Linked DNA regions of Homo sapiens: region 2 is linked to region 1. Evidence: promoter capture Hi-C in 16 types of primary human blood cells and fetal thymus (Javierre and others, 2016). All regions are on one chromosome and are shown on one strand. Each heading gives the region's core, a stretch centred on a gene start or on the middle of the fragment in contact. The rest is flanking DNA. Distances are from core to core; before and after follow the strand shown.

Region 1 (3,458 bases), core at 851-3,350:
CCAACAAAAGCGAAAATGACAAATGGGATCCAATTAAACTCAGGAACTTCTGCACACCGAAAGAAACTATAATCAGGGTGAACAGACAACCTACAGCATGGGAGAACATTTTCAAAATCTATCCATCTGACAAAGGTCTAATATCCAGAATCTACAAGGAACTTAAACTAATTTATAAGAAATAAACAACCCCATTAAAAAGTGGGCAAAGGACATGAACAGATATTTCTCAAAAGAAGACATTTATATAGCCAACAAACATATGAAAAAAAGCTCAACATCATTGATCATTAGAAAAATGCAAACCAAAACCACAATGAAATATCATCTCATGCCAGTCAGAATGGTGATCATTAAAAAGTCAATAAACAACAGATGCTGGTGAGGTTGTGGAGAAATAGGAACACTTACACTGTTGATGGGAGTGTAAATTAGTTCAACCATTGTGGAAGACAGTATGGGGATTCCTCAAAGATCTAGAACCAGAAATACCATTTGACCCAGCAATCTCATTACTGGGTATATACCCAAAGGAATATAAATCATTCTGTTATAAAGATACATGCATGCATATGTTCATTGTAGCACTATTCACAATAGCAATGACATGGAATCAACCCAAATGCCCATCAATGACAGACTGGATAAAGACAATGTGGTACATATACACCAGGGAATACTGTGCAGCCACAAAAAGGAACGAGATCATGTCCTTTGCAGGGACATGGATGGAGCTGGAAGCCATTATCCTCAGCAAACTAACACAGGAACAGAAAACCAAGCACTGCATGTTCTCACTTATAAGTGGGAGCTGAACAATGAACACAGGGAGGGGAACAACACACACTGGGGCCTGTTGGGGAGAGTGGAGGGAGGGAGAGCATCAGAAAGAATAGCTAAAACATGAGGGGCTTAATACCTAAGCAATGGATTGATAGGTGCAGCAAACCACCATGGCACACATTTACCTATGTAACAACTCTGCACGTCCTGTACATGTATCCCAGAACTTAAAACAAAATAAAAAAGATAAAAAATAAATAAAACACACAGTCCAAAAAGTCATCCTGTCTTACAGAGCTATGGGTGATCTGGTCTCCTGCTACTTTCCGAACTTCTGTTCTGTTTCCCTCAACCCTCTAGCCTAACTACAATTGGCCTCCTTGCTGCTCTGGAACAGGCCAAGAGCTTTTCTGCCTCAGAGTCTTTGCACCTGCCATTTCCTCTGCTTGGGAAATGTTTGCCCCAAGGGAGTTGGGTGACTTGATCGCTCACATTACTTAGGTCTCTGCTTGAATGTCACAGATGTTCTCTTAATAAAGAAGAGGCAAGAAAAGCCACTTTATTATTTATTAAACTCCCGCATAGAGTGCAGTATTATTACTGTGTGCCAGACCCTGCTTCAAACACATTCCATGGACTATAAAATTGCATCTCTGAGCAGCTCCTAGAGCTGGTAGTAACAACTTACATTTACTGGGTGATTACCATGTGCCAGGTATTGTGCTAAACACGTTGTAGATATTAACTCACTTAATCCTCGTAACAATCCCATGAAGTAGGTACTGCTACTATCCCGGCTTTACATCTGAAGTACAGAGAGGTTAAGTAACTTGCCCCATGTCATCCAGCAAGAACTAAATTTGAACCCAGAGCTTAGCCACTGATGCCTCTTGAGAGAAGGAGTCAGACTTAAGTTGAGTCTTTAAAGGTGGTTGACCAGGCATTTGTCAGAGTTAAGAAAGAGAGGTAGGACATCCTTTTCCAGGCAGAGGGCATTGTGTGCACACACGTATAGAAGCAGGCAGCCCACCCTCATGCTTTCCAGGAAGCAAATGTGGCTCAGGTGTAAAGTGCCCGGTTGATGAAGGGAGTTAGCGGAGGGAGTATAAGGATGTACTGTCTGCCCCCTTAGGACACCTGCAGAGGATTAAGGTGGCTGTTTCTCCCTGGAGGTGGAGTGGGTGGGTCACTGCACAGGAGCCTATAGTTGTTGGTCTTTTAAACTCTTATTGGTGTAACCAGCCACGGAACTCTGAGGCAAGGGGTTGGGGGTGGGAAGGGAAACAGAGAAAAGGCAAGTGAAACAGAAGGGGAGGTGCAGTTTCAGAACCCAGCCAGCCTCTCTCTTGCTGCCTAGCCTCCTGCCGGCCTCATCTTCGCCCAGCCAACCCCGCCTGGAGCCCTATGGCCAACTGCGAGTTCAGCCCGGTGTCCGGGGACAAACCCTGCTGCCGGCTCTCTAGGAGAGCCCAACTCTGTCTTGGCGTCAGTATCCTGGTCCTGATCCTCGTCGTGGTGCTCGCGGTGGTCGTCCCGAGGTGGCGCCAGCAGTGGAGCGGTCCGGGCACCACCAAGCGCTTTCCCGAGACCGTCCTGGCGCGATGCGTCAAGTACACTGAAATTCATCCTGAGATGAGGTGGGTTGGCGACTAAGGCGCACCGGTGGGCACTGCGGGGACAGCAGGGCCCCGCGCGCAGGGAAGCCGCCCGGATCGCCCGGAACCGGGCATCTTCCGTGGCGGGTCAGCCGAGAGCCCGCCGGGTGGTGCTGAGTAGGGAGTCCCGGGCTCGGGGCTCCGCGGGCCGCTTTCAGGAGCAGCTGGCCTTGGCACCGAGCGTGCCCGCGGGAGGCGGGGGGGGGCGCTGCTCGGTGGCTCTGCTGCGTAGCCGGTGAACACTTGGCACCGATGCCCGCCTTCTGGGCAAGGTGCCCTGAGCCCAGCCCCTCGCCGGGCTGCAGCCCACCCTCGGCGCGCTCAGCCCGCTTCACCGCTTCAGGGACGGAATAGAACTCGCAGATGCAGGGTGTCGCTGACATTTTCAACTTTTTCTGCGGTTTCCGCCCGCTGTCTCTGACCCGAAAGTGCCCCCGGACGGTTACAGAGGACACTTAAGTGGTTTGCAAAGCCTGTGGTAGGGGAGGAGGGTGTAGAAGGGCCAAACCACGGAACTTAGTTTTATTCATTTATATAAAGCAGCACTCCGATTCTTTTTGCGCGGCCTGAAATGCATGTGACCAGAGAAGTAATTAACAAAACAATGTCAACTTCTAAAACCGAGACATTACTTAGATGATAAGGCGCAGCAACTCGGTGAATCTGTACAAACCTTGGAAAAAAAACACATTAGTCTATGGGACCTTCCAGTTTTCTCATGCTCCTTTCCAGCTACTAACCTCTCCTAAAGGGAACAACCACTTTTTGGATTTGATTCCCAGGCCTCGCTTTCACCGGGAAATTATCGTTGCTTGTAAAACAGAAGAAGCCGGGAAGGCAGGCAGGGGGAGCTGCTACTTTACACTCTGTGCTTTGGGATAGCAAAATCCCGCATTTAAGCAATCCGAGGAAACGAGCAAATAGACCTCCCTCGCCTCTCCGAGCACACTCAACAGTTCCGGTTGCAAAATGTTTGCCTCCTGGGCTTCCCAGCGTCCCGTTAGTTGTTCTATTTACACA
Region 2 (3,703 bases), core at 560-3,059, 2.2 Mb before region 1:
GCCACATCCTCAGTTTGTCCGTTCCTTTGGTGTAAAACAGAGGGTGCAGAGCCACTTCCAGCACTGGTGTCTACCTCACTGTTTTCATTCCTTCTTTCAACATCAATTGATATGTCTTTTACTTTACCTGGGCTTCTTTTATGCTTAAGTTTGACAGTTTCAGCATATTTTTCTGTATTCAGGCCTACAACATGATCAACAGCAATGCCATCCTTCTTGCCATTCTCTACTGTTGCTTTAATTGTCTGCTTTAAATTGGGCTCTGCATTTAAGTCATTTTCTTTCTTGGCCATGTCCACTAAGCCACCTTCTTTGGTAATATTCTCATTTTCCACAATCACGCCCGTTAACTTACTTCCAAGAGGCATGATTACCTTTCCTTGTTTACCATCCAATAAAGTAGCCTGGTGAGCTTCTGGAATGTGTCTTTTGCTAGTGATGCTTGCTTTTGCTGGTGTATCTACTGTGAAACCTTCACCACCTTCTTTGCTGTCACTTGTCTTAAGGACTTCTGATTCCCTAACAGTCAGACTTTGGTTAGGGAGAGCAGAGTGATCCGCAGGGGAGGTGCTGGCTGTGCTACCTTCCAAAACAGTTCTTTTGTCAAACAGAGGAATTACATCTGGATCATACGATTCCCTCAGAGGCACAACAGTCACTGAACTTAAGGATGGTGAGGAGTCTAAATTTGTGGAATGTTCAAGAGTGGCATCTCCTTGAGCAACATGTTCTTCAGCAGCTGTGTTTTTCAAATTCTTCTGTACCCTATCATTTTCTGATGGGGCACTCAGTAACATTCTATGAACAGTTTCAGAATCTATATTCACTTCAGTAGTTCCTCTATGAATGGGTTCTTTCTCCCCAGGGTTCATTTTGGACACAGCACTTTGTATATGCATTTTCTTGGTCAAGGTGCTTCTATGATCGGCATGCTTTTCAGAATTACTATTAACTCCTGTTCCACGGCCTGGCTTATAAGCTGGAGCTGTTGCTTTTGAATCTGCTGTGCAAGTTCTCAATTCATCCTTTTGAACAGTGGCAGAAGTTTTTTGTTTCATATTTTCAGAGTCAATGTCTTGCTGAGAATTATTATTGCGGTTGTCTTGGGTTTTAGATACTTCAAACACATTTTCAACACCTGGCTCAGAATCAATTTCCATTGGCTCTTGTTCAGGGATCAATGTCATATCACCACTCTTTTTTGGTCTCTGAAGGGAGGAACCGCTGGGAGTGCTCAAAGTGTTTGCTGCTAATTTTTCTTCTCCTTTGGCCATTTCTTGTGACAAGCTTCCTCTCCGATTTTCGCACAACCTTCTACTTAATTTCTTTTCCATGAGTGAACTATTACCTCTGGCCTTTTCATGACTACTGTCAACTTCTTTACCATCCTTGTCATCTGATTTATTTTCGTCCTTCTTTTTTATGTCTTTACTACTATGCTTTAAGCTTCTGCTTTTGTGGCCATCTGACAACTTTCTCTCAAGCCTGGTGGAAGTGGAGTCTTTATCACTCTTATATTTCTCCTTTGCTAATGGTAACTTGGCTCTATGACTAGAATCCTTCTGTGTACTATGTGCTGAAGAAGAAGCAGTCTCTAATACAGGTTCAACACCAGTTTCTTCAAAAGGTTTGTCTTCAACTTTAGACTTACGCTGTTTTTCTGAGTCATTTTCTTCTGTGTTCTTCTCCTTGTCTGGTTTTGGAGTGGTTGCCTGTTTTGTGGCACCTTCTTGTAATTCTGTTTCTACAACTTTTACCTGTTTGCCTTGAGTTTTTGATTTAGACTTCAACACAAGTTTCTCTTCTAACAAGCTCTTTGTTCGTCGTTTCTCCTTGTGAACAACCTCTTCTGGTTTCAAATTACTATCCATGTTAGTGGAGTCCATATCACACTTATCTTCCGAATAACTTTCACTTCTTCTCTGTAATGTGATACCATGTTGCTTGGAACCCAGAGAATCTTTCTGAATTTTAGAATCACTTGACCTTCTTGATTTGTGCTCTGCCTTAGTTTTTTCAGCTGACAAGCGTCTCTCTTTTTTGTTGTTTTCTTTACGAACATTCTCATCTGTTTTTATAATATATTCAGAAACTGGCTTTCCATCTTTGCCTAATACTGATAATTTCCTTTCATTCCTATGTTTACTTTTTCGTTCGGTTTTATCATCTGAAGAAAGCTTTGTTTGTTGACTTTGCTTTTGAATATTTTCCTCTACTTTTAAACCTTTCTCAGAAGAGTGAAGCTCAGTCTCATCACCTGTTTTATGCATACAATCACCTTTATATTTATGTTTCACAGACAATTTGTCTTCCGATGGAGTTTTCTCTCTTTCAGGCTTCTCCTTGGAGGATTTCACCTCTTTCTTAAGTAGGCTTTTCAAATGTGGTGTTTCAGAATCATCTTTCTTTAGATGCTTTTCGTTTTTAAGTGTGCTTTTCTGTTTCTGGGGCTCTTCGGTGCAAATTTCTGAGCGTTCTACTTGCCTTTTTACATCTCTTGTGTCAGTCTCTTCCTGTACCCCCTCCATGATAACAGGGGTAGATGTCCGTCTTTTATGTTCTCTTTCTAATTTGGATTCATTTTTGTTTTCGTCAACTACATGCAAAGACTCTGAAAGTCTCCGGGCAGGTTTACTTGGTTCACTTTTTGCATGAACATGCTTCAGCTCCTTTGAAGAAGAAATTTTTTCCTTTTCACAATGCTGAAAGAAAACAAAGGTTAAAATATGAGAAATACCAAAATCAATTTTTAGATTAAAACATAACATTTGGGTGGATTTAATATGTTGAGTGCTGTCACATATGTAACATCTCACTTAATTCTTACAAACAGCCTGTGTAGGTGTCAAAAACTCACCTGATTTTAAAAAATAAGTATTATTAACTTGATTTTAAGAAGCTAAATTCTTCAAAGAACTAACAGGAGTTTGCAACAACCATATTTTACAATAAAAAAACTAATTCTAAACAATATGAACAATTTTATGAGATTATTTCTCATAGAGATTTATCACAAAATAAAGTTAAATACTTAAAAATATGCCATTAAAACATCAGGAAATTGTAGCTCAGCATGATTCTATAACTTGACACTCAGACCACAAGTAGGTGTGTTAGGAATGAGTTTAGATTATTTCATTCCGAGTCTAGTACTCCTTCCAGTATATCACAGGCACTGATTTGTCTATGAATTCTTCAATTCTGAATCACTAGAACTCACTAATGCCCAGTACTCAATAATAAATATGAGCTGAATAAATGACAGTCAAATGTCCTTTTCAGTCAAAAACATAATACATGAAGGCAATTTAAAATTGAAATATACTGAAATATAGATTTCCTATATTTTAATTTAAAAAGCTGAATTATGTATGGAAACCTCATGAATTTAGGCTACTTGTACAATATTCTACACATGAAGCTTCAAATGTACACAATAACGCACAGTAACCATATCATATATAACATATGTATATGTTTATGTATTCAAAAAAAGATACGGAGAGACAAGAGCATCTAAACCTTCCTTCTGGCCCTGTGGTTTGGCACTAAGTAGGCGATTAATATTAATGAGTGGAGGTTGACTAAATCCACTTCAATAATACTCACTGACTACTAGCTATAATTATTCTTATGCAAATAATGGGCCAAAGTTCAGACGGACCTTTGTGCCTCTAGGTCAGTTTAACACTTCATCTCCTTA

The links. The method cuts DNA at HindIII sites, captures the fragments that hold promoters and counts their contacts. A CHiCAGO score of 5 or more calls a contact.
Region 2: a contact is called between a fragment that was not itself captured here and the fragment with the promoter of CD38 in region 1, in 1 of 17 cell types (monocytes). The highest score is 5.7, in monocytes.

The regions. Positions count from the first base shown.
Region 1 is chr4:15,776,228-15,779,685 of GRCh38, forward strand. It overlaps CD38 (CD38 molecule), which reads left to right and starts at 2,101. Exons shown (of 8, transcript NM_001775.4): 1 at 2,101-2,420. The coding sequence starts at 2,188. RefSeq lists enhancers at 1,886-2,528, 1,940-2,439 and silencers at 2,570-2,619, 2,810-2,859. The HindIII fragment of the contact is 6,782 bases long and covers 1-3,458 here.
Region 2 is chr4:13,602,383-13,606,085 of GRCh38, forward strand. BOD1L1 (biorientation of chromosomes in cell division 1 like 1) reads right to left here. Exons shown (of 26, transcript NM_148894.3): 10 at 1-2,702. Among named protein-coding and RNA genes, the nearest start is that of BOD1L1, 23 kb to the right of the region's middle. The HindIII fragment of the contact is 731 bases long and covers 1,445-2,175 here.